3 separate regions of the Homo sapiens genome follow, and all the other regions are linked to region 1. Evidence: promoter capture Hi-C in human tissues and cell types (Jung and others, 2019). All regions are on one chromosome and are shown on one strand. Each heading gives the region's core, a stretch centred on a gene start or on the middle of the fragment in contact. The rest is flanking DNA. Distances are from core to core; before and after follow the strand shown. Region 1 holds the start of ATF4 (activating transcription factor 4). Region 2 overlaps PICK1 (protein interacting with PRKCA 1). Region 3 has its middle 17 kb from the start of MCHR1.

Evidence for each region. The method cuts DNA at HindIII sites, captures the fragments that hold promoters and counts their contacts. A contact is called where the count stands out against the background at its distance.
Region 2: a contact is called between a fragment that was not itself captured here and the fragment with the promoter of ATF4 in region 1, in 1 of the 25 tissues and cell types used here (dorsolateral prefrontal cortex).
Region 3: a contact is called between a fragment that was not itself captured here and the fragment with the promoter of ATF4 in region 1, in 1 of the 25 tissues and cell types used here (lymphoblastoid cells).

What each region holds. Positions count from the first base shown.
Region 1 is chr22:39,518,854-39,522,746 of GRCh38, reverse strand. ATF4 (activating transcription factor 4) reads right to left here and starts at 2,185. Exons shown (of 3, transcript NM_182810.3): 1 at 1,996-2,185; 2 at 1,076-1,393; 3 at 64-974. The coding sequence starts at 1,301. The coding sequence ends at 145. RefSeq lists enhancers at 1,708-1,757, 2,118-2,267 and a silencer at 2,648-2,847. The HindIII fragment of the contact is 4,198 bases long and covers 804-3,893 here.
Region 2 is chr22:38,061,939-38,065,831 of GRCh38, reverse strand. It overlaps PICK1 (protein interacting with PRKCA 1), which reads right to left. Exons shown (of 13, transcript NM_012407.4): 4 at 702-830. Among named protein-coding and RNA genes, the nearest start is that of PICK1, 6.5 kb to the right of the region's middle. The HindIII fragment of the contact is 9,593 bases long and covers 1-3,893 here.
Region 3 is chr22:40,694,692-40,698,584 of GRCh38, reverse strand. No RefSeq gene overlaps it. Among named protein-coding and RNA genes, the nearest start is that of MCHR1, 17 kb to the right of the region's middle. The HindIII fragment of the contact is 5,724 bases long and covers 1-3,893 here.

The sequences.
Region 1 (3,893 bases), core at 936-3,435:
GGGTGGGTGGGTGGCGCTTCACTCGGTTACTTTGCCAGGAAAGGAATTCAAACGCACAAGTACTTTCCCTACAAAATAATTTATTGGAACACACAGCTACAGCACTCTATGTACAAGCACATTGACGCTCCTGACTATCCTCAACTAGGGGACCCTTTTCTTCCCCCTTGCCTTGCGGACCTCTTCTATCAAATCTTTCAGGTACTGGATCTCCTTGGCCAGGGAATCCGCCCTCTCTTTTAGAGCCTCGTTCTTCTTTTCCAGCTCTTTGCACTCACCAGTAAGAGCCTCCTGCTCCGCCCTCTTCTTCTGGCGGTACCTAGTGGCTGCTGTCTTGTTTTGCTCCATTTTTTTCAGCTTCTTATCCAGTTTCTCACCCTTTACTTTTGCTGCTACCATCTTCTCTCCAGGAGGATCGTAAGGTTTGGGACGGGCAGACCCACAGAGAACACCTGGAGATGGGAGGCTCCTATTTGGAGAGCCCCTGGTAGAGGGGCTGTGCTGAGGAGACCCCAGATAGGACTCTGGGCTCATACAGATGCCACTATCATTATCTGAAGGGGTGTCTTCCTCCTTTATGCACTGAGGGATCATGGCAACGTAAGCAGTGTAGTCTGGCTTCCTATCTCCTTCAGTGATATCCACTTCACTGCCCAGCTCTAAACTAAAGGAATGATCTGGAGTGGAGGACAGGACCCCTGGGGAAAGGGGAAGAGGTTGTAAGAAGGTGAAGGGGGCAACCTGGTCGGGTTTTGTTAAACTTTCTGGGAGATGGCCAATTGGGTTCACCGTCTGGGGGGGCTGCTTATTAGTCTCCTGGACTAGGGGGGCAAAGAGATCACAAGTGTCATCCAACGTGGTCAGAAGGTCATCTGGCATGGTTTCCAGGTCATCTATACCCAACAGGGCATCCAAGTCGAACTCCTTCAAATCCATTTTCTCCAACATCCAATCTGTCCCGGAGAAGGCATCCTCTGCAAAACATTTGAGTGATGGGGCCAAGTGAGTCAGATACAAAGGTAGGAGGCCCCTAACCCTAGATCCCACCAGGACGATGTGGTGGTGGCCCACTCACCCTTGCTGTTGTTGGAGGGACTGACCAACCCATCCACAGCCAGCCATTCGGAGGAGCCCGCCTTAGCCTTGTCGCTGGAGAACCCATGAGGTTTGAAGTGCTTGGCCACCTCCAGGTAATCATCTAAGAGACCTAGGCTTTCTTCAGCCCCCAAACCCGACTGGTCGAAGGGGGACATCAAGTCCCCCACCAACACCTCGCTGCTCAGGAAGCTCATTTCGGTCATGTTGCGGTGCTTTGCTGGAATCGAGGAATGTGCTTAATTCGAAGGTGTCTTTGTCGGTTACAGCAACGCTGCTGCTGAATGCCGTGAGAAGCCTGAATGAGAATCAGAAGCCAACTCCCATTAGAGGTTAGCTGTTCTGAGAATTTCATCCTTCCACTTATGAGGCGGGACTTCTCTAGATCGGCCATCTAGAGAATCGGGAACAGGGCAGTTGTATTTGCCCCTCCCTGCTTGCAACTCAGGTTCCACAAAATGGACGCTCACGGAGACCAGGGGATTCTTCCACCGGCCGCCAAGAGGAAAGCGCTCCGTCCCCACGTCCAAATACGGCCAGGGCGGCCGCGCCCCGCCCACCGCCCGCCCTTGACTCACGCCCGCGCCGCCGCCCTGCCGCCGCCATCTTGGTTCCTGCCACGTTTCGTGGGGCAACAGCCAAGACCCCTGGGACCCTTGCGGGGCTCGGGGTCCGAGGGCTGTAGGGCTCCTGGGGAAGCAGTCCGGGCACCCGACTACGCTTTCCCGATCCCAGGCACGCGAGCGTCTCGGGGACACCCAAGCAAAGACCACGCGTCCCGGGCGCTCGTTAAATCGCTTCCCCCTTGGCGGCACCGCCCTGGCCCCAGGCCGCACCCCACCAATCCAAAACCCGCGCCGGCCCCAGGAGCACAGCTGGACGACCCGCCCCGGTACTCACGCCATGGCTTAAGCCGCTGGGGGTTGCCGCTGCAGAGCCTGGTGCTGCTGCCGCCGCTGCAAAGGCCAATGCTGCCGCAGGCACTGCTGCCCCTAATACGCCATGGTGGCCGTGGACCCTGAGGGCGGGGAGGAGGGAAAACGCACACGCGCAGAGAAAACTACATCTGTGGGCGGGCAAAGTAGAAATGGCTGCCGTGGCCGCCCGCCGGCCCTTTATAGACTTCGTCTCTATGGGGACGCAGCACAGACGCATCCTTCCGCCGCGACCACGTGACCGTCTCCTCCCGCCCGCTCCCTTCCCTCCCTCCCTTTGACGCCCCAACCGTTTATGCCCAGGGCGTAGCTGTGACGAGAAAAGGAGTTTGTTCTTATGGCCTCACGAAAGGAGAGAGGTGTACTACTTTACTAGGCTTCTATGATCAGAGTCCGTTCTTTCCTTCGCCGCCGGAGCGCGGAGTGATCTCCCAGACACGCCTCGCTTCCGGTGTCAGCGCAGTGGGCGGGGAAAGGTCGTTTTCCGGCGAAGAGTTTTTATTGTGAAGGCCGAGGACGCCAGGTTATCGCGCGAGGTGCTGGCGAAGAGCGCGCGTCAAGGTGATTGGCCCAGGCCCGGTGAATCATATATATCTCGAGCTCTTATTGGCTCAGGGCCCTAGATGGGCGGCTGCTGGGAGAGGGATCCCGGGGTCCGCGTGGGAAGGGTTGGGGTCTCGGGTCGCTGCTAGTCCTCAGCCAGCCCCGCCTGCTGGCCCGCCACGATCGCGCTGGCTCCTGCCCCCAGGCGGCCTTAGCCCAGCGCACCCCTTAGTGGCCTCAGGGACCAGCCCTTGCGGTCGGATCCCGCCGCCCTCAGTGGAGGTCCGCACTGGTGGCCCCGCCGCCGCTCCCAGCCTGCGCGTCCTTCGGTTGCGGGTGGTGATTTGTGGCCTGCGGAAACCGGGGGGTTACCTGTTCCAAGCCTGAGTTTTCCAGAGGCCCCATTCATAGCCGACACGGCGCTGCTGCCCCCGGGAGGTTGAAGGGGCCTCGAGAGGGCGCGCCGGGCCTGTCCACCTACCCCCAAAGGCCGGCTGAGTCTGCATGGCTCCTCCTAAACTCTGGAAAGGAGCCGGGAAGACGCGCCGTCCTGTCGCCCAACCTGGGTTTTTACAATTTTCATCCGGCTCAAGTGCAAGGCTGCCACAGAATAGCATCATAGAGGAACTTCTGGTGTCCGAAGATTGCGTTCTCCTAAGAACAAGATTTTCTTCGCTGCCGTCTCCCTGGGGTAGTTCGGATTCACTCCGGATTCTGAACTCCCCGGCCTAACCCGCTTTTCAGCAGTCACGCCCATGGCCCAGGGAGGAGAGGCGCTTGGGAACCCACGGCCACTTACTGGGGGTTGTGCGTTGGGAAGGGGTAGTCTGTTTTAAGAATACAAGAAACCTCCCCATCATCCTTCAGCCCCTTCCAGTCAGGCCCTGTGAAGGTGGAAACTTTGAGTTTCCGCCTCCATTTCACTGGGCCACACAAGTATGAGCGCTGTGATATCAAACAACCAGGGAAGCACTGCTCTAAATAACCACAGGCCATCTGCTGCGCTCATTCAACCTCGCCCACAAATCCTTTCCAATGGTAAACCGAGGCCCAATGGGATGAAGCTTCTTGCTCAAAGTCACAAGGCTCCCAGTGGAGGGAGTATGGGGTAGGAGTTAGAAGACAGATTTTGGGGAGCGCATCCAAAAGAATCCTGGCTGGGACATTTTGGCTAAATGACTTATACTCTCTGAGCCTCAGTTTCCTCATTTGTAAAATGAGACTACTGATGAGTATCCTTGCCTCATGAAGTGAGATCATACATGTAAAGCACTTAGCACAGTGCCTGCCTGGTACATGTAAGCGCCCAATAATGGTTGC
Region 2 (3,893 bases), core at 833-3,332, 1.5 Mb after region 1:
CATCAGTTCTTTCACAGTATTGGTTTCCTGAGACTAGCTAGCAGCCACTTCGCTAGGAAATGGCAAAGGGGCTGCATGCTCGCTTCAGGAGAGGCCGGGATGCCGCCTGCCATTCCAGTCCTGGAGCGGCAGGGGTGGGGGAAAGCGGGGCAGGCAGTGTGTGACTCTGGTCTGTAGAGCAGAAGATCAGCTGGCCTGGGAGGGGGGTCTCTGGGTGTCTATGAGCCCAGGAGGCTGTGTGGGACCGAAAGTTCCTACAGGATGGGGAAAGGGCACTCTTCTTTCCCTCCTAGCCCTCACAGGCCCAGCGTGACCCGGCTGACATTATTGGGTGTCTACTGACCCAGGGAGGATCACCTTGGACTTTTAGCTTCAGCTCTGGCACTGACTGGGGACACATGGGCTTGCCTGAGGGGTGGTTCCAAGTCTGTCAGCTCCCTGGGAGCTCATGGGGACCTTGTGGTCTTGCTGCCCACTCTCTTGCCAAGGTTCAGCACAAGTCCTGGAGCACGATTAGTATTTATTGAATGAATGAGGGATGGATGAGGGAGGCTGGAGTGTGACCCTGACCCTGCACATGACAAGGAAGGGGGCGGTGAGGGCTGATACCCCCTTCCAGGCCTGCTGGGACCTCTGGCAGCCTGGAGGTCTCAGAAACATGTGTTGCTGCCTCTGGACACCTGCTCTGCAGCAGCCCTTACCTTCACCTCCTGAATCATCTTCGCCACCTCCACCTTAGTTTTCCCTTTGATTGACCTGCCATTGACACCGGTGATCTCATCGCCAGCTGCCACTGTGCCGTCCAAGGCTGCTGGGGTGTTGTCAAATACCTGTGGGTGCATAAGGAGAGTGGTGGGGGAAGAAAGGGAGGGCTAAGATGGAACCTGGGAAGACACCTGACCACTGCCTGGCTCTGTCTTCCACTCTACCCTCTGCTCTCGTTTTTTGAGAAAGCGTCTCACCACCCGGGCTGGAGTGCAGTGGCGTGATCACAGCTCACTGTGGCACTGAACTCCTGGGCTCCAGCAATTCTCCTGCCTCAAATACATAGTCAAATGATTTCTTTTTTTTGAGTCGGCGTTTCGCTCTTGTTGCCCAGGCTGGAGTGCAATAGCGCCATCTCGCTCACCGCAACCTCCGCCTCCCGGGTTCAAGCAATTCTCCTGCCTCAGCCTCCCGAGTAGCTGGGGTTACAGGCATGCGCTACCACGCCCGGCTAATTTCGTATCTTTAGTAGAGACAGGGTTTCTCCATGTTGGTCAGGCTGGTCTCAAACTCCCGACCTCAGGTGATCCACCTGCTTTGGCCTCCCAAAGTGCTGGGATTACAGGTGTGAGCCACCGTGCCCGGCGGCATCAAATGATTTTTGACAAGGGTGTCAAGAACATTCAATGGGGAAGGACAGTCATTTCAACAATGGTATGTGAAAAATGAAGTTGACACTACTTAACACCACATACAAAAATTAACTCAAGGCCAGGCGCAGTGGCTCACACCTGTAATTCCAACACTCTGGGAGGCCAAGGCAGGCAGATCACCTGAGGTCAGGAATTCGAGAGTAACCTGGCCAACATGGCGAAACCCCATCTCTACTAAAAATACAAAAATTAGCTGGGCATGGTGGCAGGCGCCTGCAGTCCCAGCTACTCAGAAGGCTGAGGCAGGAGAATCGCTTGAACCTGGGAAGTGGAGGTTGTAGTAAGCCGAGATCATGTCACTGCACTCCAGCCTGAGCAACAGAACGAGACTCTGTCTCGAAGATAATAATAATAATAATAATTAACTCAAAATTGTTCAAAGACCTAAATGTAAAAGTTAAAACTATAAAACTCAGAAAAATGCCTAGTCCAAAACCTTCACGACATTGGAGTTTACAGTAATTTCTTGGATGTGACACCTAAGATCCAAGTAACAAAAAATAAACAAATTGAACTTCATAAAAATTTTAAAACTGGTGCATCAAAATACACCATCCAGTCTGGGCAATGTGGCAAAACCTTGTCTCTACAAAAAACACGAAAATTAGCTGGGCATGGTGGTGTACGCCTGTAGTCCCAGCTACTTGGGAGGCTGAGGTGGGAGGATCGCTTGAGCCTGGGAAACAGAGGCTGCAGTGAGCTGAGATCCCGTCACTGTACTCCAGCTTGGGCAACAGAGTGAGACACTGTCTCGAAAAAAAAAAAAAAAAAGAACAGAGAAGAGAAGAAAAGAAAGGCAACCCACAGAATGGGAGAAAATATTTGCAAATCACATTTTTGATAAGGGATTAATATCCAGAATATATGCAGAATTCCTAAAACTCTTTTTTCTTTTTTTCCTCTTAGCCGATTGTGCTTTGTAGAGAATTCTTAAAACTCAACAACAAAAACCAAACAACCTAATTCAAAAATAGACCAAGGGCTGGGCACGGTGGTGCGCACCTGTAATCCCAGCATTTTGGGAAACCGAGGTGGGAAGATCGCCTGGGCAATATGGCAAAACTCTGTCTCTACAAAAAAAATACAAAAATGAGCCAGGCATGGTGGCGCGTGCCTGTAGTCCCAGCTACTCGGGGGTCTGAGGTGGGAGGATCGCTTGAGCCCAGGAGGTTGAGGCTGCAGTGAGCCATGATCGCACCCCTGCACTCCAGCCTGGGCGACAGAGCAAGATCCTGTCTCAAAAAAAAAAAAAGTTAAGATGGTAAATTTTACCACAATAAAAAAATAGAAAAAAGCAGAACAGAGAATACAGAAAGCAGGATGTCATCATCGAGATACATGACAAGAAGGACATGGTGTTCCCGATGACGCCCTCTGAGGATCTGGCACAATAAACAAAAGCCTGTGCCTGCAGCTACCATCACGACTCCTCCCAACACCAGGGACAAAAACAAAGTCCTCAAAGTTCTCACAGATCAGAAATAAAACACATCACAAATAAAGGATCACCAATAAGAATGGCAATAGCCATGTGACAGCAAAGGACAATGTGACAAGGCCATCACACTTCCACACAGGAATTACTGTCAACCTTGACGTTCATTCTTGAATCGAATGAGCCAAAATGTCAACTGAAAGGAATATGGGAACCACAATGACCAAAAAAGACAGACCCGAGGTCTCAAAAAATTGACATCCCACGTGCCCTTTCTCAGAAAGCTACAGGAGGATATTCTCCACGGGAGATCAGGGAGTAAACCAGGAAAGGGACCCCCAAGATGGGGGAATCCAAAGAGAAGGGGCAGGGGCAGGGGGAGGGCACAAGGGGGAGAGACTACAGGGCGGAAAACAGACTGAAGAAAATGGGGCCGGGCATGGTGGCTCACGCCTGTAATCCCAGCACTTTGGGAGGTCGAGGCAGGTGGATCACTTGAAGTCAGGAGTTCGAGACCAGCCTGACCAACATGGTGAAACCCCGTCTCTACTAAAAATACAAGAATTAGCCAGGCGTGGTGGCACGTGCCTGTAATCCCAGCTACTTCGGAGGCTGAGGCAGGGGAATCACTTGAACCCGGGGGCTGGAGGTTGCAGTGAGCCAAGATCACGCCATTGCACTCCAGCCTGGCAACAGAGCAAGACTTAATTTAAAAAAAAAAAAAAAAAGATGGGAAATTGTGGAAAACATACTGAGAAAACAAGGAGAGTGCAAATGAAAAAAACAAAACAGGAAATTACCCCCACCCTCTCAAAACACAAGAACAGGCTGAATTAAGAAAAGAAACATAGATTCCTCAGAAAGTTAAACATAGAGTTGTTTTGACTAGAATGAGGGCTCCGCAAGAGTAGGATCTTTGCTTTCTTATTCTTTTATCCCTAGTGCCTACAACAGAGCCTAGGAGGCATCTGGAAAAGATTTCCCGAACAAAATCTCCGTTGTACTAATATTAATTTAGCCAAAAATAGAAAAATAACTAT
Region 3 (3,893 bases), core at 1,009-3,508, 1.2 Mb before region 1:
CAAACTCTTGGGCTTAAGCGATCTGCCCACCTCGGCCTCGCAAAATGCTGAGATTACAAGCATGAGCCATGGTACCTGGTATAAACACACCCAACCTTCCCACTTTTACCTACTTGCTCAAGTTATTGCCACTTGTCTAAAACTTGCTCTTCTCTATCTCTGCTTGTCCAAGTCCTATCTACCCTTCAAAATCCTTTTCCAATGTCCTGGATCCCCAGTGGGATATGAAGACTTCTTCTGCCTCTCCCAGCACCTTGTAACCTTGACTCTGCCTTTTACATTCTGTCCTGTGTGTGGTCATTTGCACAAGGCAGCGTTGTGCTGTGGCGCAGCTTTGGCCATAGACCACCTTTGGTTCAGCCACTTTGCAGGTGCACCATTGATAGGTCACTTACCCTTTCTAGGGTCTCAATTTCCCCATTTATAAAATGAGGGTACTATTAGATCCTGCTTTAGAGAGTTGTTGTGGGGATTAAGTAGGATAATTTGTGTAAACTACTTAGCCTGGTGCCTGATGTATAGCCAGCACTTGCTGACTGTTAGCCATCCTGGTTATTATGGTCATTACTGCTCTCTTCGCCCCGTCACCTCCCTCACAGTCTCTGCCTTCCTCAGCTCTGCATGCTCTGACACTTTTTAAAATGGAGATAAAATTCACATACCATAAAGTATGTGAATTCTTTATTCACATACCATAAAGTGTGTGAATTCTTTATTCACATACTTTTAAAGTGTATGATTCAGTGATTTTTGGTATATTCACAAAGATGTACAACCATCACCACGATCTCATTCCACAACATTTGTATCACCCCTGAAAGAAATCCTGTACCTGTTAACAGTCGCTCCCCATCTCTCCCTCCCCTCAGCTTCTGGCAACTACTAACCTACTTGATATCTCTATGGATTTGCTTATTCTGGACTTTTTTTTTTTTTTTTTTTTTTTTTTGAGAGAGAGATACTGGGTCTTGCTCTGTCACCCAGGCTGGAAGTGCAGTGGTATGATCATAGCTCACTGCAGCCTCAAACTCCTGGACTCCAGCGATCCTTTGTGCCTCAGCCTCCCAAGGAGTTGGGTCTACAAGTGTGCACCACCACACCTGGCTAATTTTTAATTTTTTTTGTAGAGATGGGGTTTTGCTATGTTGCCCAAGCTGGTCTCAAACTCCTGGCCAGAAGTGATCCTCCCGCCTCAGCCTCCCAAACTGCTGGGATTACAGGCGTGAGCCACCATGCCCAGCCTATTCTGGACATTTTATGTACATGGAATTACACAATATGAGATCTTTTGTGACTGGCTTTTATTTAGCATATTTTCAAGGTTCATGTGTGTTGTAGCATGTATCAGTACTTTATTTTGTGGCTGAATAATTCCATTGCATAGATTTACTGCATTTTATTTGTCTATTAATTAGTTGAGGGACTTGTAGATGCCTCCACTTTTTTTTTTTTTTTTTTTTTTGAGACAGAGTCTCGCTCTGTCGCCAGGCTGGAGTGCGGTGATGCGATCTCGGCTCACTGCAACCTCTGCCTCCTGGGTTCAAGCGATTCTCATGCCTCAGCCTCCCGAGTAGCTGGGATTACAGGCATGTGCCACCACACCCAGCTAATTTTTGTATTTTTGGTAGAGACAGGGTTTCACCATGTTGGCCAGGCTGGTCTCAAAGTCCTGACCTCGTGATCTGCCTGCCTTGGCCTCCCAAATTGCTGGGATTACAGGTGTGAGGCACTGCGCCCGGCCGTCTCCACCTTTCGGTAATTATGAATAATGCTTCTATAAACCTTTGTGTACAAGTTGTTGTGTGGATATATTTTCAATTCTCTTGGGTATATATCTCCATCAGAAGAGGGGGAGTTAAAGCTTCTACAGAAAATATAATTACGCTATTTCAAACAATAGAACAATTCTGCCCATGGTTTCCAGAACAGGGAACTTTAGATTTAAAAGACTGGGAAAAAATTGGCAAAGAATTAAAACAAGCAAGTAGGGAAGGTAAAATCATCCCACTTACAGTATGGAATGATTGGGCCATTATTAAAGCAACTTTGGAACCATTTCAAATAGAAGAAGATAGCGTTTCAGTCTTTGATGCCCCTGAAAGCTGTGTAATAGATTGTGAGGAAGAGGCAGGAACAGAGTTCAAGAAAGGAATGGAAAGTTCACATTGTAAAAATGCAGTAGAGTCTGTAATGCCTGCCTGCGTTGTAGGATTGCCTGCCTTGTAGTATTGCCCGCCTTGTAGGATTGGAAGTGCTGCATTCTATAGTAGCTCTATATTTAACATTTTGAAACTGCTAAACTGTTTTCTACAGTGGCTGCGCTATTTGACATTCCCATGAGCCGTGTCTGAGGGTTCCCATTTCTGCACATCCCTGACAACTCTTGCCATTGTCTGTCCAATGCTGCCACTTTTCTCCCAGTAACTGTGTGCCTCATGAGTATTCAGTTTGTTGGATGGAAGCTCTCCACTGCTCTGGCGTCTCTGCGTTTCTTTGATGCTGGCATAAGAGGCATGGTTTCTCCACTGGCAGCATCAGCTGGGACATTGGATTTGGGAAAAACTCTGAGGTTCCTTTGCATCAGGCTGGGGGCTGAGCCCTGAGGTCCATGTCTTCATGGAGCCTGGAGTCTATGGAGGCACAAATAAGTCAACAAAGTGTCCAATTGCAATGCGGTGAGCACGACTCCAGAGGGAAGCCCAGGGCATTATTATTAAAGTGTGATGGGTCGTGATTACCGGTGGCTTATGCCTGTAATCCCAGCACTTTGGGAGGCTGAGGTGGCAGTGAGCCGAGATCATGCCACTGCATGCTTTAGTCTCGCTCTGGGCAAGACTCCATCTCAAAAAAAAAAAAAAGGGGGACCAGGCGCGGTGGCTCATGCCTGTAATCCCAGCACTTTGGGAGGCCGAGGCGGGCAGATCACTCGAGGTCAGTTCGAGATCAGCCTGGCCAACACGGTGAAACCCCGTCTCTACTAAAAATGAAAGAAAATTAGCCGGGTGTAGTGGTGCACGCCTGTAATCCCACTTACTAGGGAGGCTGAGGCAGGATAATTGCTTGAACCCGGAAGGAGGAGGTTGCAGTGAGCTGAGATCATGCCACTGCACTCCAGCCTGGGTGACAGAACAAGACTCTGTCTCAAAAATAAATAAATAATAAATAAACAAATAGGCTGGGCACGGTGGCTCACGCCTGTAATCCGAGCACTTTGGGAGGCTGAGGTGGGAGGATCACAAGGTCAGGAGATCGAGACCAGCCTGGCCAACATGGTGAAACCCCGTCTCTACTAAAAATACAAAAATTAGCTGGGCATGGTGGCAGGAGCCTGTAATCTCAGCTACTCCAGAACCTGAGGCAAGAGAATCGTGTGAACCCGGGAGGCGGAGGTTGCAGTGAGCTGAGATCGCCCCATTGCACTCCAGCCTGGGTGACAGGGTGAGACTCCGTCTCAAAAAAAAAAAAAAAAAGAAAAGAAAAGAAAAGAAAAATAAATAAAGTGTGATGGAGAGATGGTACCGATTCCCCCCACCTGAGAGCCAAGAGGTTGTGCAAGGAGGGCTTCCTGGAAGAGGCAATGACGGACCTAAGTCTTAAAGATTAAGGAGTCACTCAGACAAAAAAAGGCGGGGCATAGTATTCCCAGGTGAGGGGAACTGCACAAGGCAAGACACGGAGCTGGGAAACAGTCTGGACTGTGCTGTGGAAGTGGCTGGCAGGAGAATAAAGTGGGGATTTGATGGTGACAGAGGAAGAGAGAGATTGGAGTGTGATAAACCTATGTACTGCATGGGAGACGCAGCAGCCGGGAGGCCTCTGCCTTGGTCTCCTCCTGTGTAAAATGGGGATAAAAATATTGCCTGCCTTGTAGGGATCTTGTCAGGGTTTAATGA